Regions from separate parts of the Homo sapiens genome. Here region 2 is linked to region 1. Evidence: promoter capture Hi-C in 16 types of primary human blood cells and fetal thymus (Javierre and others, 2016). All regions are on one chromosome and are shown on one strand. Each heading gives the region's core, a stretch centred on a gene start or on the middle of the fragment in contact. The rest is flanking DNA. Distances are from core to core; before and after follow the strand shown.

Region 1 (3,791 bases), core at 587-3,086:
CCAGCTCCCCCTCCGTCTCCCCCACCTCCATGCACAATTCCTGGCACGTGTTAACTGTTCAGTAAATGTTGAACTTTTGAACTTTACTGGAAATCAAGAAACACTGAGTTTTAGCCTCAGTTTTGCTCACTATGTGATTTTAGATATTTTATTCTCTGTGCTTATCGTGTGTATCTATATACAACTTAATCCTAAAGTTCCATCGTATAAAAAATTCTACAACTTTTTATTTTGCTCTGTATGTGACAGTACCTGGTATTTAAAAACAATTCTCTACATCAACTTAAAAAATTAACATTTGATGATTATAATTAACTTCTAAAAAACTGAAAGATGAAACACATCAATGCCTTTTCTTTCCCCCCTGTACTGCTACCTGAAAACATCGGAATTTGCTGTGGAACGAACAAGATTTCTTCTAAGAAATTACCCCCTACCACCATGACTACATAAAATAAGGTAATTCCCAGCAAGAATATTATGCAGATACTAAAAAGAAAACATGCTAGGCATGGTGGCTCACGCCTGTAATCCCAGCACTTTGGGAGGCCGAGGCGGGTGGATCGCCTGAGGTCGGGAGTTCGAGACCAGCCTGGCCAACATGGTGAAACCCCGTCTCTACTAAAAATACAAAAATTAGCTGGGCATGGTGGCGCACGTCTGTAATCTCAGCTACTCGGAAGGCTGAGGCAGGAGAATCGCTTGAACCCGGGAGGCGGAGGTTGCAATGAGCCGAGATAGCGCCACTGCACTCCAACTCTAGCTTGAGCAACAAAGCGAGACTCCGTCTCAAAAAAAAAAAAAAAAAACAATGACACGAGGGAAATGCTTACAATGCTCAATGAAAAAATGAAAAGAAAGGTTATAAAGTTTTAATATACGATTTGATCTTTTGAAAATAATGGATATATAACTTAAACGGAAATGTATCATTAAATATAGCAACAGCGTCTTCCAAAAAATTTCAAAATCGGGCTTAATGCCAATTACACGATCATAATCCAAAAACCCTTAACTGAAGCAAAGACAGTGATTTGTAACATCTGAACTGTGTGAAAGGGGTGGGGGTGATTCAAACAAGTGTCATCACCTTGTCCAATGATGAAGGAGAACGTGTATCAGTTCTGCATTGTGAAATTCTCAGTATGAGAGCGTGTAGTGGCTAAGAAAAGCAGTGGGCGAATTAGGAAACAAAGAGAAAAGCCAGCGACATCACCAGTTCTGGCCTCCTTCCCACCGGAGGAAAGGGGAGAAGGCGGGTAGTCATCAATTCCAGGTCCAGCCTAAGTTCTGGGTCCCCGGCCCCAGCGAGAGCCTCGCCTCGCCTCGCGCGCCTGCGCGGAGCGGGCTGGCTTCCTGAACGGCCCTCGCCTCTTCACCACCAGGGCCGTCCACCAGAAGTTTCTAAACGGGTGAGAGGCGACAACGCAGTGCAGCTGGGTTAAAGGAAGGAGGCTGGTTTATCCTCCGCACTTACTTGGTACTCGATCTCCAGCGAGGCCTTCAGGGGCATGGGCTGGTAGAAGCACTCCTTCTGGCCGGCGGGAAGGGTAAAGGTGAAGTCGCTATCGAGGGAAGGTGTGAAGCCGGCCGCCCCAGGCAGCAGCACCGGAGGCAGAGCGGCCAGAAGGAGCACGGGGAAGGGCAGCCAGATCTTGTCGCCCATCCCTGCTGGGGCGATCCCGGGCTGAAAGAGGCGTCAGGTACTGTTGTCTCCGCTCCGCGTTTCCTCTCTGGACTCCTCGTGGTTGACAGGGAAATCTGGAGTCTGAAGAAACTCCAGGTGGCGGCCGCGGCGGCGGCGAACACTCCCTCCGAAAGAGAAGCGCAGTTCTCCAAAGGGTAGGGACTCTGGGCGGGGCTAGCAGTCCTATTCCGCAACCGCCTCAGTCTCGGCCCCCTCAGGCCAGGCGTGAGCGCCGCCCGCCTCTCCCCCTGACGGCCTCCGGTTCCCATGGCTTCCCCCACCAATGGGCATCATGGCGGTAATTGTGGGAAATGTAGTCCCGGGCGGGCTCCGCTAGTGGGCTCGGGCGCGCTCGCCGACCACGATCCCCGGCAAGCCCCGCGCCTTCGGCGGCGCCTCACGCAGTCTGCGCCGGGGCGGGGCAGTGACCGGGTAGGCGCGTCCCAACGGCTCCCGCGGCGGTTCGAATTCTGTGCTGCCGGGGTTCGCTGGTTCTCCGAGTTGTGTCCGAGGCTTCCACGCGCAGGGGCCCGGGAAAGGGTCAGAGGCTTCCTAACGCAGACTCGAGTGCGAAGCGCGCAGTCGCCGGGTGGGTCTCTCCCCAGCGACGATTTGGGTGGTGAGCGACTGCGCCTTGGCGTGGGGAAACCGGCTTACCTGGGGGAGTTCTGTTCCTTTCCCTCCCGGCACCTTGGATGCGCTGGGACTGGTCCTCGTGGTTGCTGAGCATGCTGCTCTGAACGGTTGTATTTTATTTGATGAAAAATAGGAGGCCGGGCGCAGTGGCTTACGCCTGTTACCTCAGCACTTTGGGATGTCGAGGCGGAAGGATTGCTTGAGCCCAGGAGTTCGAGGCCAGCCTTGGCAATATGGCGAGCCACTGTCTCTATAAAATTAAAAAAAAAAAAAAAAAGAGGAAACTGTCACTTCCGTCCCCCACCCCCGCCCCCGCTTCTTTCAGACGGATGTAAGATTAGCTGTGTCAAGCGATCTTGAGACAGGAGACTACTACATAAAGTTATGACTTCTTTCCAAAATGAGGAATCTTTTTCGACTACAGCCCATTGTATCACATACATAGGGTATAAAAGAACACTTGTCCTTCGTTTGATGGGTGTGCGTGTGCAAACCTACAAACACATTGTTAATTAGGGCCGAAAGATGATGTTGTTAAGGTCGGTGAGTAGGATGATGTGCTTTTCTAGGTATGCATAGTCAGTGAAGATAGCCTTTTTTGGGTAACTACTGTAAATTGAAGTTAAGGACATTCATTTGACAGTAAATGTCCCACTAGGAAAATGAAAACATTTTAGTATCAAATATATTCATTGCTACTGCAGAAGAGTTAGGGAGTTCTTTCTTTTTTTTTTGAGACCGAGTCTCACTCTGTCGCCCAGGCTGGAGTGCAGTGGCGCGATCTCGGCTCACTGCAACCTCCGCCTCCCAGGTTCAAGCAATTCTCTGCCTCAGCCTCCCGAGTAGCTGAGATTACAGGCGCTCGCCACCACCCCCGGCTAATTTTTTTGTATTTTTAGTAGATACGGGGTTTCACCATCTTGGCCAGGTTGGTCTTTAACTTTTGACCTCGTGATCCACCCGCCTTGACCTCCCAAAGTGCTGGGATTACCGGCGTGAGCCACCGCGCCCGGACTGGGAGTTATTTCTTGCATGGCAATACACAGATGTTGAACTAAAACCTGATTTAAGATGAAATATATAGTACCAAATGGTATTATAGAATTTGCCCAATTTTCTCTACCCTTTTCTCCTTCACCATCCTACAGAGAGCTAGAGATGTTGAATAGGTAAAGCAGGATGGGGACCTGATTTATTGACTTGTCTGCGAGAGTCTTGTCACTTAAGCAGAAGCAAATTTGTGGAAACAAAAAAGGGAAAGAGGATAGAACCAGTTTGTCTATTAAGATTACATAGTATCTCATTTAATTTCCTGCCACTTTCTTTCCATAAGGTGGGAGTTTTCTTTTTAATCTTCCTCCCTACATCTGAGAATTTTTGAGTGGGGAATAAATGTAACATACCATTCTAACTGGATGAGGGAAGGAAGGACAGTTTAGTATTCGTTAATTCATTCAAAATATTGAGC
Region 2 (3,998 bases), core at 212-2,711, 3.2 Mb before region 1:
TTTTAGCAATACTTTTCAGTTGTCTCAGATACTAATTCTTTAAACCACTTTTACAGGGTCACAAAGTAATATTAATTTGGTCTTCACTTTTGTTTTCAAACCTTGCTTGGAATTGGTGTCAAGATAAAGTGGTATGTAGTGACAACATTAGGGAGACATGGGAAAGGACTTATGTGATTAAACTGGATTTAATCCTGAGTAACCAGGCATGCTTAAGTAAAACCAGTTCACTAAGTAGGCTGTAAACTTTTAACCCCACCAAAAAAATGATCTTTAAATGAGGTGTGATCTCAGCATATGTCTTACTCGATGAGCTTTTGATTTTTCATAACATTTCATGCAACAAAGAATTAAAGCTTTCATATCTAGGTACAGATTTGTGAAAGGGGACTGGAATAGCCCTCTTGTAGATACTTTTCAGTTACTTTGAAATAGTAAGTTCAGCTCTTAAGAGTAGCACACTCTCGTGGTTTTGTTTGTTTTGGTTGGACTTTAACTCATTTTGATGTAGATACCTTTAAACTATGAATATTTGGGCTGGGCACGATGGCTCACACCTGTAATCTCAGCACTTTGGGAGGCGGAGGCAGAAGAATCCCTTGAACCCGGGAGGCGAAGGTTGCAGTGAGCCGAGATCGTGCCATTGCACTCTAGCCTGGGCAACAAGAGCCAAACTTCGTCTGAAAAAAAAAAAACAAAAAACCAACAACAAAACAAAAAACTATGAATATTTGAAGTGGCCAGAGTTGGGAGTGAAAATAAAAAATATATTATTGTATTTTCATGCTGTAGTTTGATGATAATGCCAACACCCAAGGTATAGCAGAGGCTAACAAAGTGGAGGTGGGGCAGTAGAAACAGTTCTTTCCACTCCCCACCCAAGGCAATAAGGGAATCCATTTCTATGGAGAATTGAAAAACAATAATAAAATGTAGTATGTCTGCTTTCTGTTATTGCCATATGCCAGAATTCTAAACAGTGTCAGTGATAGAAATTCTAAACAATATTAGTGATGAAATACGCCCTGTCTCACTGCCCAAATATACCACTGCTGTATTTGGAAGATGGAGTTTGACTAACACCATATATGAATCTATTCCTGTATAGTGTAGCAGGATTCTGTTGTATCCAGATGACCACTATATTAAATTCTGTTCTTTCAGTATATATTTGTAAAATTAACTAAAGAATTTAACAGTTGTTAAATTAGTTTTGATGAGGAAATTGGCAATATGGTTTTCAGTGATGACACATTCTGCTTGAATATAGAACACAGTCATATATGTATATGCATATGCATGTCTCAGATAAGATCTTGAAATCTTTTTTTTTTTGAGACAGAGTCTCGTTCTGTCGCCCAGGCTGGAGTGCAGTGGTGCAGTCTTGGCTCACTGCAGCCTCTGCCTCCTGGATTCAAGTGATTCTTCTGCCTCAGCCTCCCTAGTAGCTGGGACTACAGGCACGCACCACCAGGCCCGGCTAATTTTTATATTTCCAGTAGAGAAAGGGTTTCACCATATTGGACGGGCTGGTCTCGAACTCCTGACCTCGTGACCCGCCCACCTCACCTTCCCAAGTGCTGGGATTACAGGCGTGAGCCACCGTGCCCGGCCAAGATCTTGAAATCTTTAAAGAGCAAATTAAATGGTAAAAGAAATTAACTTAGCAAAAATTTCATGTTACGTACAATTCTCAGATGTCTTTGCTTTTGCATTATTTGATACATAATTTAATCTATCTGCCTTTGTGTTACTTGGTACAAATCAGTGCTGAATCCCCTCTTTTGGCTGTTATTATGTATCAGGTGTTGTAAACTAATGTTTACCATAATTTGGATAATAAACCTACCATTTGGGGAGATAGTGAAGAAAAAAGAGATACATTTTCTGGAATGGAGTATTGGTAATTATTTGTTTTAACTATTCTCAGTTTTGCAGATAATTGGGTTAATGTCATTTTAAAAATTGTGCTTGTTTTTTACTGGATCGGCATATAATTTTGAATTATTGCTAATATCACACTAATTCCTTTTTGTTAAATGTGTCTTCATAGATTACACACACTCCGCCTGCAGGAATACTTATCAGGGCTTTAATGGTAAGTATCCTCTTTCAGCTTTTCTCTTCATGCGCATAAAAATATAGTATCAATGTAAAAGGCCAGTTCTACCTATTTCAGTCCTTGTTTTGGTTCTTGATATATCATTTATGTGTTAATATTGTCTTACTATATATAGTATTTGAATTGGGGAATGTGCTATCAGAAAATGTTAGGGGTTATTCACATTAGTTTGATTTTTTTTTTGGTCCATTTTGTTTGAATTATGATTATTTTAATGTGTTCCAAAGGGCCTAACTACATTCTGAGTGATGAATCACAAGACACTGGCTGAGTTATTTTGGTTGAATTAGAGGCTTTGGTATTGAGTAATGTAGACTAAGTGGATTATTGGCTTGGTTCTATATAGCTTGTATTGTAATGCATTTTGACCTTGTTTTTGAGGTCATTTTCTTCAGTGTGTCCAAATGTGTTAGTATATAAAGAGCTGTCTAGAGGAGCACATGAAGAAGCTTGATTGTTTATTGACATGAGCATGACATTAGACTTGTGACTATAGAACTAGATAGAATCATGAGAGGTATGTAGAATACAATTGGATGTCATTTTGATAGTTATTAGAGTTAGGGCCCTGCCACACAAGATAATAATACAAAAAAAGAACACAGAACAATTAATGCAGGTTAAAAAACATATGAAGGACTTGAGGCATTAAATATCATGATTGCCAGAGAAATGTAAAATCCAACTTTCGTACAGAATAGAATATATTCACAAAGTAAAACTGAAGCAAATGTATACTAAAGACTATGCCATTTATGGGAATAATTACTGAACAGTTAATTTTTATTTCATTATCTTTAAAGATTAAGATAAACTTTGGATTTCATGTGGGCTAAAAAGGCTTAACATATAGGGAGTTAGTACTGAAGAATGTATTTGTGAGCTGGAAATTGAAAATTACCAAAGGAAGTTTAATTTGCATCCACATGTAAGTTATATTGAAAACTGGAAAATTAACGAGAAAGCCATTTCATAAGTTTTGATATAAAGATTTTAAGGCCTTGAACTTGGGAGGTGATAGTAGTAGTAATCTTAAAAATAAAGAGCAAATTAGCAGAACTTGCAGGCTGACTAGTAATGGGTAGAAAATTGAGAGGGTTGAATAAAAATGAATCCAGGATTTTAAACTGGAATGTATGACTAGTGCTTTTACAAGGGAGAGGGGGAGGGGAAGAGGGAGGGGGAGAGGGAGAGAGTTTGTAATGATAAAAGGCCATCTAGGATTTACTGGATAGTTGGATTTAATGTCTAAACATAGGACTTGAAATGCAGACTCATGCAGGGCCAGATGTTTATTTATTAATTAGTATACAGTGTTGCAAAAAGATCTAATATGACTTTTATTTTTTCTCTTAATTTTAGTTATAACTGGTTCTCATCTGAGGGTGATTGTTGGAATCTCTTGGGGAGCTTTTTCAAAGTCTCTCTTTTCACACATAGCCTATACCTCTTGAATCTTAATTTCAGGGCAAGTGGTCTTTGGCTGTGTATGTTGTGCAAAACTACTCTGAATGATTTTGGAAGGCACCTCTGATTAAAGACCAATGCTTGACAGTACTTCTAGGTCTAGATTATCTATATTTTACAAATGAGGAACTTAATTTCAGGGATTCAATTTGACTTTGTTCAGCAAATATTTATTTAGTGCCTGCTGGGCATCAGATATCGTTCTAGGAGGTGGGAATATAGCAGTGAACAAAATGGACAAATATTCCTGCCTTTGTGAGGCTTTCCGTCTAGTGGGATGAAATAGTAAACAAGATAAGAAATAATATATATGTCATAATTTAGTCCACAGGGGAAAAAGGGAGTAATATTTATTGTATGTTAGATGATGATCATTGCGAGGGAGAGTAACATAGAGAAGGAGGATAAA

Evidence for each region. The method cuts DNA at HindIII sites, captures the fragments that hold promoters and counts their contacts. A CHiCAGO score of 5 or more calls a contact.
Region 2: a contact is called between a fragment that was not itself captured here and the fragment with the promoter of TMED5 in region 1, in 1 of 17 cell types (activated CD4 T cells). The highest score is 5.3, in activated CD4 T cells.

Annotation. Positions count from the first base shown.
Region 1 is chr1:93,178,577-93,182,367 of GRCh38, forward strand. TMED5 (transmembrane p24 trafficking protein 5) reads right to left here and starts at 1,837. Exons shown (of 4, transcript NM_016040.5): 1 at 1,478-1,837. The coding sequence starts at 1,666. CCDC18 (coiled-coil domain containing 18) reads left to right here and starts at 2,148. Exons shown (of 29, transcript NM_001378204.1): 1 at 2,148-2,276. RefSeq lists enhancers at 1,218-1,367, 2,238-2,447 and a silencer at 1,898-2,177. The HindIII fragment of the contact is 9,002 bases long and covers 1-3,791 here.
Region 2 is chr1:89,996,057-90,000,054 of GRCh38, forward strand. ZNF326 (zinc finger protein 326) reads left to right here. Exons shown (of 12, transcript NM_182976.4): 2 at 2,054-2,098. Among named protein-coding and RNA genes, the nearest start is that of ZNF326, 2.9 kb to the left of the region's middle. The HindIII fragment of the contact is 2,215 bases long and covers 355-2,569 here.